Linked DNA regions of Homo sapiens: region 1 is linked to region 2. Evidence: promoter capture Hi-C in human tissues and cell types (Jung and others, 2019). All regions are on one chromosome and are shown on one strand. Each heading gives the region's core, a stretch centred on a gene start or on the middle of the fragment in contact. The rest is flanking DNA. Distances are from core to core; before and after follow the strand shown.

Region 1 (6,867 bases), core at 1,691-4,190, 270 kb after region 2:
TTACTTTCGGGATGATGAAACTTCTGGAACTGGATAATGGTGGTGGCTGTATAACACTGTGAATGTACCAAATGCCACTGAACATTAAAATGGTGAATTTCATGTTATGTGAATTTTAACACAACTTTTTTTAAAAGTAGAAGGGGAGGCGGGGAAGAGGGAGAGAAAAAAAATGAAGAGAAGGAGGAATGATTCCTAGGTAAGTAATGAGTTTCCCGAAATCAGGGACCCGAGGAGCTCTGAGGTATAAAAAGAGACCCTCTCTCGGCCAGGCGCGGTGGCTCACGCCTATAATTCCAGCACTTTGGTAGGCAGAGATGGGCGGATCACAAGGTCAGGAGATCAAGACCATCCTGGCTAACACGGTGAAACCCCGTCTCTACTAAAAATACAAAAAATTAGCCGGGTGTGGCAGCGGGTGCCAGTAGTCCCAGCTACTGGGGAGGCTGAGGCAAGAGAATGGCGTGAATGCGGGAGGGGGAGCTTGTAGTGAGCCGAGATCGTGCCACTGCACTGCAGCCTGGGGGACAGAGCTAGACTCCGTCTCAAAAAAAAAAGAAAAAAAAAGAGACCCTCTCTCCTTTTATACTGAGGAGGTAACATAATGCTGGGTTTGCCCTTCATGGGGGTGGGAGGTGGCTGCAGACCCAAAGAACCAGCAGCAGCAGCCTGGAAAGGGAACAGAGCCATGAGCACAGGGAGACGGTGGAGGGATGAAGCTGACATCTTCACAGGAAAACCAGCTGATCTCTCCCTGAAGATCTCCTTGGTGTGTACTCACCTGTCCTTTATACTGGCTGAACTGTTCATTCCCACATATGAATAAGTGAATAACATGAGTAAGTGCCCAACCCTGGGCCAGGCACTGTCATAGGCGTTTCAGGACACTAATGATGGAATCCCTGGCCTCATTAAGCAAACCCTCTGGAGGGTGACAACGTTCAAACTCATAGGCTGCTAGGACTTAGTGTAATATAGTCTGTGGCTCAATTCACCCAGTGTAAACAAAAGCTAATAAAGGAATCTTTCTTCTCTGATTTTTAACACATGTTAATCACATTTGGGGACTGAGTAGAGATTAGAGGGATATAGGGGATGCAGTCTGTAGAACAAACAGCAACTCACCTTGCAGGGTGAGCACTAAACAGAGACCTGGATGCAGAAAACCAGCTATTTTAATTAAAAATTCTGGCCAGGCGCGGTGGCTCACATCTATAATCCCAGCACTCTGGGAGGCCGAGACGGGCGGATCACGAGGTCAGGAGATGGAGACCATCCTGGCTAACATGGTGAAACCCCGTCTCTACTAAAAATACAAAAAATTAGCCGGGCGCAGTGGCGGGCGCCTGTAGTCCCAGCTACTCGGGAGGCCGAGGCAGGAGAATGGCGTGAACCCAGGAGGCGGAGCTTGCAGTGAGCTGAGATCGCACCACTGCACTCCAGCCTGGGCGGCAGAGCGAGACTCCGTATCAAAAAAAATAATTAAAAAAAATAAAAAACAATTCTGGATTGAAGCCCAGAGTGAGGAATTTGACTTCAGGCCCCAGGTTCAGACAGAATTCTTCCAAAAGACACGTGCCAGTGCCTTCACGGGCTTTGACCTGATGCAGCTCTGCCCTCATGCAGCTCACATTCCTTTCTCTGAGACAGGGTCTCACTCTGTCACCCAGGCTGGAGTGCAGTGGCACAATCACAGCTCACTGCAGCCTCGGCCTCCTGGACTCAAGCGATACTCCCACATTAGACTTCCGAGTAGCTGGGACCACACGTGCATGCCACCACGCCTGGCTAATTTTTTATTTTCTATAGAGATGGGGGTCTCACTATGTTGCCCAGGCTGGTCTCGAAATCCTGGGCTCAAGTGATGCTCCTGCCTCGGCCTCCCAAAGTGTTGGGATTATGGGCACGAGCCACCACGCGCGGCCTGGAGTTCACATTCTAATGATAATAAGGTAAAGAAGTGAACTATATAACCCTTCAGCTAGGAATACATGTTAGTAAGAAAAATGGGACAAGCAAACTGTCCCTAGGTCCCTATGTTTTTTCAAGGTTTTGATCCCATGTGGAACTATGTAAATAAGTTGCCTACCCAAGCCCAGGGTAAGGGGCTTGTGTGAGTTTGCTGGGGCTGCCACAAAAAAGAATCATAGACTGGGTGGCTTAAACCACTGAAATTTATTTCCTCACAGTTCTAGAAGCTGGGAATCCAAGCTCAAGGTTGCTTGTAAGGCTTCTCCCCACTGGCTTACAAACAGCCGTCTTCTCCCTATGTCTTCACACGGTTTTCCCTCTGTGTGTATCTGTGTCCTCATTTCCCTTTCTTAAAAGGACACCAGTCATACAGGATGAGGGCCCACCCTAATGACCGCATTTTATTTAGTTAGTTAGTTAGTTAGTTAGTTATTTTCCTTGACCTACAACAGTGTGGTCAAAAATTCTTTTTCTTTTTATTTGTACTTTGTAGAGCCAAGGTCTCACCATGTTGCCCAGGCTTGTCTTCAACTCCTGGCCTTAAGTGATCCTCCTGTCTTGGCCTCCCAAAGGGTTAGGATTACAGGCATGAGCTACTACAGCTGGCCATGCATTTTAACTTACCTCTTTAAAGACTCTTTCTCCACATGCAGTCACATTCTGAGGTACTAGGGGTTGGGACTTCAAATACGAGTGGGGAGTGGGTCCAAACTCAGCCCATGGTATTCTTGAGCACTCCCACAGCCCTGACTGTCCCCTGGGGCCCCTCACTGTGCTGGGCACATCCCCGTTATCACTCGGTCTGGTTCCCCACGGACAATGAACCCTCTGATCCTAGGGACCCCTGAGTCCTGTCCACTCCATCTCATTCTCGGCTATATCCCAGGGTTGAGAACACACCTCGAGCCTTAGAGGGGCTTAACTGAAGGCAGGGAAGGATGAAGGAGGCAACAGAGCTCTTACTGCAAATGATTAAAGCTTGTCTGGGCCAAGAATTCCAACAGCTTTCCTAATCGGATAGCAGGGACAGGGAGGAGGTCTTAGGAGGAGGCCTCAGAAGCAACTTCAAAGAGGCCAGAGGAGAAAGGATGACCACAGCAGAGAGGTGAGGGGTTAGACCAAGCCACCTGGTTGAGTCGGGACAGCTGGGTGCAAGAGCTGGGGAGAGACTCCCCCACTCTCCTCCCTGCACAGCGTCTCTTAGCACCGCTTGCATTCATCACCCGTAAACTTCAAATCCCGTACACAGCCACCATCACCTTCAAAATCCTTCCAGTCATCCTCAAAATCCTTCTAGTCACCCTGAATGGGCAGCAGAATGGGTGTCACCACCCTTTTGACAGCTGAAAAAACTGAAGGTCAGAGATCTTACATGAACATTGCAAGGCCAAAGAGCCAATAACTCTGTGGAAGGGGTGTTGGAAGGTACCGTAGTTAAAACCCAGGGCCCTCAGCTACACCCAGCTGTCCCTGCAGCAGCCCTACTGAGAAGGAGATGAGGAGAGAGGACCACTCCAAGCATCCAGCTGCCTTTCACTTGCCAATCCTGGGAGTCCTGGCCTGGGGCTCAATGGCCTTGTTCTCCAGGAGCCAGTGGCCTTCCCTTAATAGTCAGCACTCCAAGATGACCTGGCTATACTCCTTCTAACCTTGGCCGTCCGTGACCCCAAGCTGGTTAAGCCGTGAGCCAAAATCAGACAAGATGTCCCCAGTTCTTAAGGCAAGCTCTCCCTTTATCCTCTTTGATTCACCCATCCAGTCATCAAATACTTACTGAGCCAGACTTCAGAGACACCAAGCACCATGCCAGACCAGAGTAGTTACAAAAGTTTAGGAAGTGGCGTTCCTGGCCCTGCAGAGCTCAGAGTGTAATGGAGGAAACAGTCAAATAAATAAGGCATCGCAGTCCCATGTGGTTGGTGCCATCCCAGCAGGAGATCCCCATGCAAGCCAGCAGAAGAAAGGACTCTGCCTGGGGGAGAGCAAAGGCCACACAGAGGAAGGGGTCCATGGGCTGGATCTTGATAAAAGATCATCATTCCCTCGACAGGGATGAGAAGGGCCTCTAGACAGAAGCTGCAGCCGAGCAAAGGCACAGAGGTGTCAGGTTGCTTCCCGCTCCCCAGGAGAGGGAAAGTAAGGAGGCTGGAGAAGGAGTGAGGCCAGGTGCAGTTTGTACAGGGTCCATATTTGTGCAAGGTCCAGATGAGGAGTGTCTTGACACTTCAAGCAATGGGGAGCCAGTGGAGATCAGGTGTGGAGAGGATGCTGCTGACGCCATGTGTGGGGTCCCTGGCTCGGTGGAAACCCAAGAGATATTTACTAAGGACCAGGTTAATGGAGACTGTGTCTGCTCCTATGGAGGTGTTACCTTCTCACTGCTGCCCTCCAGCCTTCTCAGATGGAGTATAGCCTCTAAGCATGACTGCTGCTCTTCTCCCCAGACCACAAGCCATAGAAAGCCAAGTACAGGTGACTGCATGATTATCAATCATGTCAGCTGCCTGTCTGCACCGTAACCCTTTCCAACTTGGCTGCATCTCACATCAGTCCTCATTTGCAAGAGACTTGCAGCTGTAGCTGAATATATATATAGTCTTGATGATTTGCAGTGAAGCATAATTTACACCTTCTACTGCTTCTCAGAGAAATCATTTCCCCAAGACTAATAATAAAGCAGACCAGCCACCCAGAGTAACAAAGCCCCCCAACTACCTCAACACGCAATTCAGAAACAAACCAGAACACCGGCCGCATTAGGTCAGCACTGGCGCCATTAGGCACCTCCGAGAGCAAAGCTGACAGGCAGGGAAGGAATGTCAGCATTTAGCATCACATAACACTGGGTTTTCAAACTGGGTCCTACAGAGCCGGAGGGATTCCTGGAGGGAGTGATCCAGAGCCTGAGTCACAGTCCCCTGGGAGTGTATGTGGCAGAATGAGCAGCTGCTTTATCCAGGCCCCTGAAGCAAGCACCAGGGCTGGGAGATGGGGGATTCCAGGCAAGCTCAGCTCCCCTGCCTCTCCCATTCAGCAATGCCAAGAAGTATCGCTGGCTTCTTGGACCAGGACGAAGGGCTTAGGCCAGAGATGGTTCTGTGGTGCCCGTGGAATGCTTGGCAATGCCTTGGCAAGTCCATACCAACATCTCCCAAACTCGCCGCCCCCACCCCCACACTCTCTGAATGACTCCACATAGAGGACTCTGCATAGATGAGGAAGGAGTCTGGCTTCATGTCCACTCCGGCTATTTTCTCCCAGGTGAGGCAGAAGAAGCCCATCTGAAATTCTAAACCCTATCAGGATCTGACAGCCACGCCCACCACAGGGCTCCAGAAAACCATACACGGAGCCTGTCTCATACCTCTCCTGTGAACATCCCTAAACCCCAGCTCACTGTCTCTCCCAGCACACATTCTAATCAGCATGCATTAGTAATCTGGCTAGAGGGACAGGCAAATCTTTGAAAGAGCTTCACCACCAACTCAACTCCCCTCCCTCCCCCACCACCTTTTTTTTTTTTTTTTTTTTTTTTTTTTTTTGCTGATGAGCAAAAATTGCCTCCTCTTTTCAAAGCAAGAAGTCATCAGAAACAGGAAGATCTCTGCCCTCTTCCCTGTGTGGGCTGTCACGGCAGACAGCGGAGGGCTTTTCTTTGTTCGCTGGTTAACAGAGGGAATTAGAGAAAAAAGGTGAGCAGAGAGAGCCCTACAACCACCACCTTGGAGGATCCGATTATACGGCCAGGACAGACAGGTGCTGGGGCACAGAAAGAGCTCAAAAACTGTAGTCGACTGGCTGAGAGAACCAATGTCCCCTCTGCCATGTCACAAGACACATCAACTTGAAAACATCTGGCCAGGCACGGTGGCTCATGCCTGTAATCCCAGCAGTTTGCAAGGCTGAGGTGGGCGGATCACCTGAGGTCGGGAGTTCGAGACCAGCCTGACCAACATGGAGAAACTCGGTCTCTACTAAAAATACAAAATTAGCCGGGCGTGGTGGTGCATGCCTGTAATCCCAACTACTCTGGAGGCTGAGGCAGGAGAATCGCTTGAAGCTGGGAGGCGGATGTTGCAGTGAGCCGAGATCGATCGTTCCATTGCACTCCAGCCTGGGCAACATGAGTGAAACTCCATCTCAAAAAAAAAAAAATTCATAGGTCCTGTGACACCAAATGAGAGGAGAGTATTTTCCCTTATACCAAGCAGGGAGATATTTCAGGAGATCTTGGATGCAATCTGTTGCAGAAAACTCCGTGTTTCCAAGCTGGTTTATCTGTCACCTTATCTAAGATTCCCCTCCCCTTCAATCCCCTTAACCTCTTAAGATTCTTGGTCACATTTTATCACATGCAGGGAGGATCTGGATAGGAGGAGACTGAGACTATGAACATGAATTTTTGGTTTAAGTTTGTGGTCCAAATACACTATAACAAACTCAGAGATCCACAGAAGGGCTGTGACTTCCTTGGGCAAAAATGTCTTCAATGACAGTGCTAAAACCAGACAAACAGGGACCTGATGGTGCTAAAACCAGACAAACAGAACCAAGATTGAAACTGACTTAAGGTGACAGTGGCCAGGGGTCAGAAAGACAAGGTCCCCACCCAAAATGGTGACCAGGAGGTTGGGAAGGACGCTCCGAGACAGCAGGTTTCTTTTATTAATAAAGAAGGCAAATAGTAATGACCAGCATTCTGAGCAATGGATGCAAAATACGTAATATGGCAGTGACCATCAGCAAATACTGAGAACTGGTGTCAAGCTCTCAGTGGAGCATTTACGTTTAGGAAAACAATTGTAACTTTCACAACAATCCTCTGATGTGGGCCTTATTATTCCCACTTAAAGATACGGAAACTAATGGCTGGGCGTGGTGGCTCATGGCTGTTAT
Region 2 (6,192 bases), core at 1,931-4,430:
TCCTGACTCCTACCTTCCCTCTCTCCCTCCCTCATTTCCCCCTCCTCCCTTTCCTCCTCCTTTTATTCAATGAGTATCAATTTGTAGGCTTCTGCTGGGCCCTGCATTGTTTATGCCACTCTGAAGACTTAGTCCCTGTCCCAGGCCACCCAGAGACCCCACAGCCAATCCGAGGGAGCTTTCTCTGCAGGCTGTGCCAAGATAACAATGAGAGAGACACATGCCTGCCAGAATGGGAGGCCCGAGCTGAGCATTGAGGATAAGCCCATGGACCACAAGCTGCATGCTCTGCTGTTTTATTTATGATTTCTCCTAATAACTGTGGAAGATTTTTGTGCATTTGTCATCATGCAAATGAAAGCATGATTGCCAATGCACACAAAGTTATTAACATCTAAACAATAGTCTCTACTAACAGGAATGGAATTAGAAGAATAAGGTAAGTGGCAGGGGCAGGGGGACTGAAAAAGAATAAATTAAAAAAAAATCAAATGAAGGAAATTAGAACTGGTATAATAGGAAAGAAATGGAAACAACCTAATGTCCAAAAACATAGGAATGTTCAATAATTTCCACATTTCCATAAGCCAGAATTCCAAGCAGCTATTAAAAGAGTTTTGGAAGAGGTTGGGTGCGGAAGCTCACGCCTGTAATCCCAGCACTTTGGGAGGCCGAGGCGGGCAGATCACCTGAGGTCAGGAGTTCGAGACCAGCCTGGCCAACATGGTGAAACCCCGTCTCTACTAAAATACAAAAATTAGCTGGGCAGGTGCCTGTAATCCCAGCTACTCGTGAGGCTGAGGCAGGAGAATTGCTCAAACCCAGGAGGGGGAGGTTGCAGTGAGCTGAGATCACGCCACTGCACTCCAGCCTGGGCGACAAGAGCAAAACTCTGTCTGAAGAAAAAAAAAAAGTGTTTTGGAAGAATATGTAATGATATGGAAAGCACTCATGATAAAAGAGTAACTGAAAAATGTATGATAAAAAATCGTATGTGAATATGTCATAGCTTTAACATTATTTAAAATTATATAGGTAAAAGACTGAAAAGGTATATACTGATATACTAAGAAAAGTTTTCCCTGGATGTTGGAATTAGAGGCAATTGTTAGTCTCTTTTGCCTAGGTTTCTAAATTTCATGAGTTACTTTTATATCAGATAAACCATTTTCAAGACACCTACGAGGTTAGTGGAAAAGTAATTATGGTTTTTGCCATTACTTTCACAACAAAGGATCTGACAGGAGGACAGTATGGACAGGGGAGAAGGCGTGTTGGGAACCATATGGAAGCCTGTGCGCCTCACAGGGAAACTGTCAGGAGCCGGGGAGCCACGCCGCGCGTGGGAAGCGGGGGCTCATGCGTGGTGCCATGATCCGCCCCGCGCTGGGGAGAACATGAGGACTAGAACTCAGAGTTCATGCCCCCAACTTTGACCTCTTTCTACTTTATATTAGAAGCATATTGTGTGTTTAGAATGAACAGTGATTCAACTTGAATGTGTACTGCTGAAAATTTCAAAGGACATTTTAATAAAGGAAGGAAGAAACAAAGGATGGAGAGAAAGAAAAAATGTAAATATAGTCACGTGTCGCTCAGAGACAGGAATACATTCCGAGAAACACATCTTAAGGCAACTTCTATGTGGGAACATCATAGAGCATCCTTGCACGAACACAGATGGTAGAGCCGACTACATCCCTGAGCTCCATGGTCCAGCCTTTTGCTCCTAGGCTACAAACCTGTGCAGCACGTGACTGTCCTGAATGTTGCAGGCAGTTGTCACACGATGGTAAGTATTTGTGCATCTAAACATAGCTAAACATAGAAATCATGCAGTAAAAATACAGTATAAAGATAAAAAATGGGCCGGGCACAGTGGCTCATGCCTGTAAATCCCAGCACTTTGGGAGGCTGAGGCTGGCGGATCGCTGGAGGTCGGGAGTTTGAGACCAGCCTGACCAACATGGTGAAACCCCGTCTCTACTAAAAATACAAAAATTAGCTAGGCATAGTGGTGCACACCTGTAATCCCAGCTACTCGGGAGGCTGAGACAGGAGAATTGCTTGAACTCGGGAGGCAGAGGTTGCAGTGAGCCAAGATCGCACTATTGCACTCCAGCTCTGGGCTACAGAGTGAGACTCCATCTCAAAAAAATAAAAAATAAAAAACCAAGATACAAAATGGTAGACCTGTCTAGGGCACTCACCATGAGTGGAGCTTGCAGGACTGGGAGTTGCTCTGGGTGAGTCAGTGAGTGAGTAGTGAGTGAATGTGAAGAACTAGGACATTACCGTACACAACTACAGACTTTACGGATACACTTAGGCTACACTAAATGCATTTGAAAAATAAAGTAACTGTGCTATGACGTCACTAGGCAGTAGGAATTTTTCAGCTCCATTACAATCTTATGGGACCACAGTGGTCTATATCGTCCGTTGTTGACCCAAACATCGTGAAGCCAAGCATAACATGGCTGTATTAGGAAACACTCAGATTCTGCTCCGGGAAGACAACGAAGCTGTGGGCAAGTGCCCACCCCTCTATCAATATCAGCATCTCGGAGCACCACGCTCTCAGAGCCAGTGGCCCGCATCCCCCGCTCCACCCACAGATCCACTCCCTCTGCAGCAGCTGCAGCAGGGGACCCCCAGCCCGGAGCGACCCCGGCACCGCCCAGCCAGAAGGGGAGAGGGGAGACTGACCATGACGATCTCCAGCACTTCATTCTTGCTGATGGTCCCGTTACCGTCCACGTCGTAGAGGGAGAAGGCCCACTCCAGCTTCTGGTTGGTCTTGCCCGCGGTGGTCATGTGCAGGGCGATGACGTACTCCTTGAAGTCCAGGGTGCCGTCGAGGTTGGAATCGAAGCTGCGGAACACATGCTGGGCGTAGGCCTTGGGGTCGGTGTCGGGGAAGAACTTGGCGTAGATGCTCTGGAACTGCTGCTGGGTGATGCGGCCGGTGGGACAGTCCTTCAGGAAGGACTGGTACCAGGAGCACAGCTCCTCCTCCGAGAACTTGGTGTTCAGCTGCAGCTCCTCCAGGATCTCCTTGGACAGGGCCCCACTTTTGCTGTTCCCCATGAGTGAGGAAGAGTGGGCAGCGGCTGGGGAGTCGCTGGGTGGGTGGGACGTGCGTGGTCCCCTGGCCGCAGGCTGGGCTCAAGGCTGGTGTGAGCTGAAGACCGAGATGCTGGTGGCTTAGGAGGATTTGCGACCAGTTCTTCGCAATCCTTGAAGGGAGGAGGGGCCCAGGAGCTTTGTGGAGGGCGGGAGCGGTGGGGGGGGGTGCTCCCAGAACCCTAGTGAGATTAAAATAAAGAGCCCAGGGCAGGCAGGCAATTCATCTCGGCCTCCCGGGACGATACTAGAACAGGACAGGAGGTTGGAACCCTCAGAGCTGGGGCCTCCGGCACCCCCAGCCCCAGCCCTCTAACAGCAGCCATGTTCCCTGTTTCTCTTCCTCACTAACTCTGAGCATCTCGGGGCGGGGCTGGCATCTCATATCAAGCCCTAGAATGCAATGGTTAGGAGCACAGACTCTGGGGCCAGCATGGGTTCAAGTCCCAGCTTGGCTACTTAACTAGCTGTGTGGCCCCAGGCTTGTTTCTTCACCTCTTTCCACCTGGGACACTCTTCTAAACCTTCACTGCAGTCATGTCTCTGCTTAAATGTCACCTGCTCAGCCAGGCCTATACTGACCCTCTATCTATAATAGCACAACCCCCACCATCATCGGCACGCTGCATGTCCCCTCACCGGAATGAAAGCTCCGTGAAGGATGGGATTTTGTCTGTGTTGTTCCCGGATGCATTTCCATTGCCAGAACCTGATAGGCTTGGGCCCCCAGCAAGTCTTTCTTGAATAAATGGGCATCATAGCATCTACCACACTGTCATTGTGAGGCTGATGTGAGTCAATATGTCTGACACACTTAGAAACTGGCACATGGCTAATGCTAAACACTCGTTTTGTTATTGTCCATCAGTCACAGGGAGTGAAGGTGAACTGCCTGAAGGGACCAGCAGGGGGCAGCCAGGCCTGTGTCACCTCGGGAAGGGGCTGCCAGAGAACGTGGTCACATGGGATGGTGAGATTTTTGGGTTTTTTTAAATTATTCAAGAGAAATCCAAAAATCAGAATTTTTCTTGCAATTTCCACACTTTTCAACTTTGGCAATTAATTCAAAATTTTAATGGTGGCTCACGTCTGTAATCCCAGCACTTTGGGAGACTGAGTGGGGAGATTACAAGGTTAGGAGTTCGAGACCAGCCTGGCCAACATGGTGAAACCCTGTCTCTACTAAAAATACAAAAAATTAGCCGGGCATGGTGGCAGGTGACTGTAATCCCAGCTACTTGGGAGGCTGAGGCTGGAGAATCGCTTGAACCCGGGAGGCAGAGGTTGCAGTGAGCCGAGATTGCACCATTGCACTCCAGCCTGGGTGACAAGTGTGAGACTCCATCTCAAAAAAACAAAACAAAAACAAAAACAAAAACAAAACAAAACATGGTGTGGGCCAAACACAATCTATCTGTGGGTCCATGGCAGGCTGCAGGGTGTCCGTCTGCAGTGGACTTGGAGTGAGCAGGCAAGAAAACGTGTTTGCTGAGTGAATGGATAAATAACTGAGTGGTCAGAGACGGAGCTGTGCAAAGGCAGGCTTCGCGTCTGTGCAGCTCAGCGGGGAGTATCAAGCACGAGGAAGCAACCTAGTGAGGACGCTGCACACCTGGATTCTTGTCACCCAGAAGGAAGGGAGGGTGGGCGTGCACTTTCCTTAGCGGAGCGCAGTGCTCGAGGGGACACACTCAGAACCCCAGCCTTGCCACCGTGGATGGAGAGTTGTCTCTTTTTGCCCTGGGGTGAGAATGATGAAGAATAAACCCCACGGTCTCCAGGCAGGTAAACTGGTTTTTTTTTAGACGGAGTCTCCCTCTGTCACTTAGGCTGGGCACGATCTTGGCTCACTGCAACCTCCGCCTCCTGGTTTCAAGCAATTCTCCTGTCTCAGTCCCCTGAGAAGCTGGGACTACAGGTGTCTGCCACCACGCCCAGCTAATTTTTTTTTGGTATTTTTAGTAGAGTCGAGGTTTCACCATATTGGTCAGGCTGGTCTCGTAAACTCCTGACCTCAGGTGATCCGCCCGCCTTGCATCTCAAAGTGTAAAGTGGGGATTTTAGCCTACTTACTAACAGGCTAGTGGCAGCAGAAGGTAGGTCCCTGCTGCTGGGAGAAAGCCACCTGCCAGGCCCACCTCATGTCACTCTGGAAGGACCGAGAGGTTCAGGCACCAAGGGGCAGACTCATCCCTCCCAGCCGCTCTGCCCAGTACAGTTTCAGAGATTTCTCAGGAAACCTGCATATTGGGGTGTGTGTGTGAACTTTCTAATTTTTTTCCATCACTTTGTGAGTTTTTTTTTTTTTGTTTGTTTGTTTTTTTTGTTTTTTTTTTTTTAAGACAGAGCCTCATTCTGCGCCCAGGCTGGAGTGCAATGGCACGATCTCGGCTCACTGCAACCTCTGCCTCCCAGGTTCAAGCGATTTTCCTGCCTCAGCCTCCCAAGTAGCTGGGATTACAGGCGCTCACCACCATGCCCAGCTAATTTTTGTGTTTTTAGCAGAGATGGGATTTCACCTTGTTGGTCAGGCCGGTCTCGATCCCCTGACCTCATGATCTGCCTGCTTTGGCCTCCCCAAGTGCTGGGATTACAGGCATGAGCCACTGCGCCCAGTGAGAATATTACTTCTGAATAGGAGTCCTTCCTCTCCTAGGCTTTCACCATCCTGTAGCGTGCATTTATTCTCAAGAGCAGTTAGAAACAGGACAGTCACTAGCCTTGAAAACAAACGGGAGCCCAAGCCACACCCTGGAATCGCATTCATTCCAGAGCTTCCTTGCAGCCCTGGGGATGGAGGGAGAGTGAGGTCAGAGGCCTCGGCCCCTTGCTCTGAGCCACTAGTAGGGGGCGACTGGAAGTGCCTCCTGGATCGCACCCCTGTCCACATCAAGCCTGCAGCAGATGAGGCGAAGCCAGTGTTACAAGTGAGAAGTGGGGCCTCCTAAAGGCATGTCACCAGCCTGGGGTCACATGGTTGCTAAATGGCAATGCCAGAAGGAAGGAAAGTCCAGGTCTGCCAGCCTGTCCATTTAGGCTTCCTTTGTCTACGTCACAGGAGGCCTG

What was found. Contacts are between HindIII fragments. The study calls those that stand out against the background at their distance.
Region 1: a fragment that was not itself captured here is called in contact with the fragment with the promoter of RCVRN in region 2 in 3 of the 25 tissues and cell types used here (dorsolateral prefrontal cortex, spleen and thymus).

What each region holds. Positions count from the first base shown.
Region 1 is chr17:10,173,221-10,180,087 of GRCh38, forward strand. The region is part of intron 1 of GAS7 (growth arrest specific 7); the gene reads right to left. Among named protein-coding and RNA genes, the nearest start is that of GAS7, 22 kb to the right of the region's middle. RefSeq lists an enhancer at 83-908. The HindIII fragment of the contact is 9,101 bases long and covers 1-6,867 here.
Region 2 is chr17:9,902,091-9,908,282 of GRCh38, forward strand. It overlaps RCVRN (recoverin), which reads right to left and starts at 3,181. Exons shown (of 3, transcript NM_002903.3): 1 at 2,710-3,181. The coding sequence starts at 3,090. The HindIII fragment of the contact is 14,018 bases long and covers 1-6,192 here.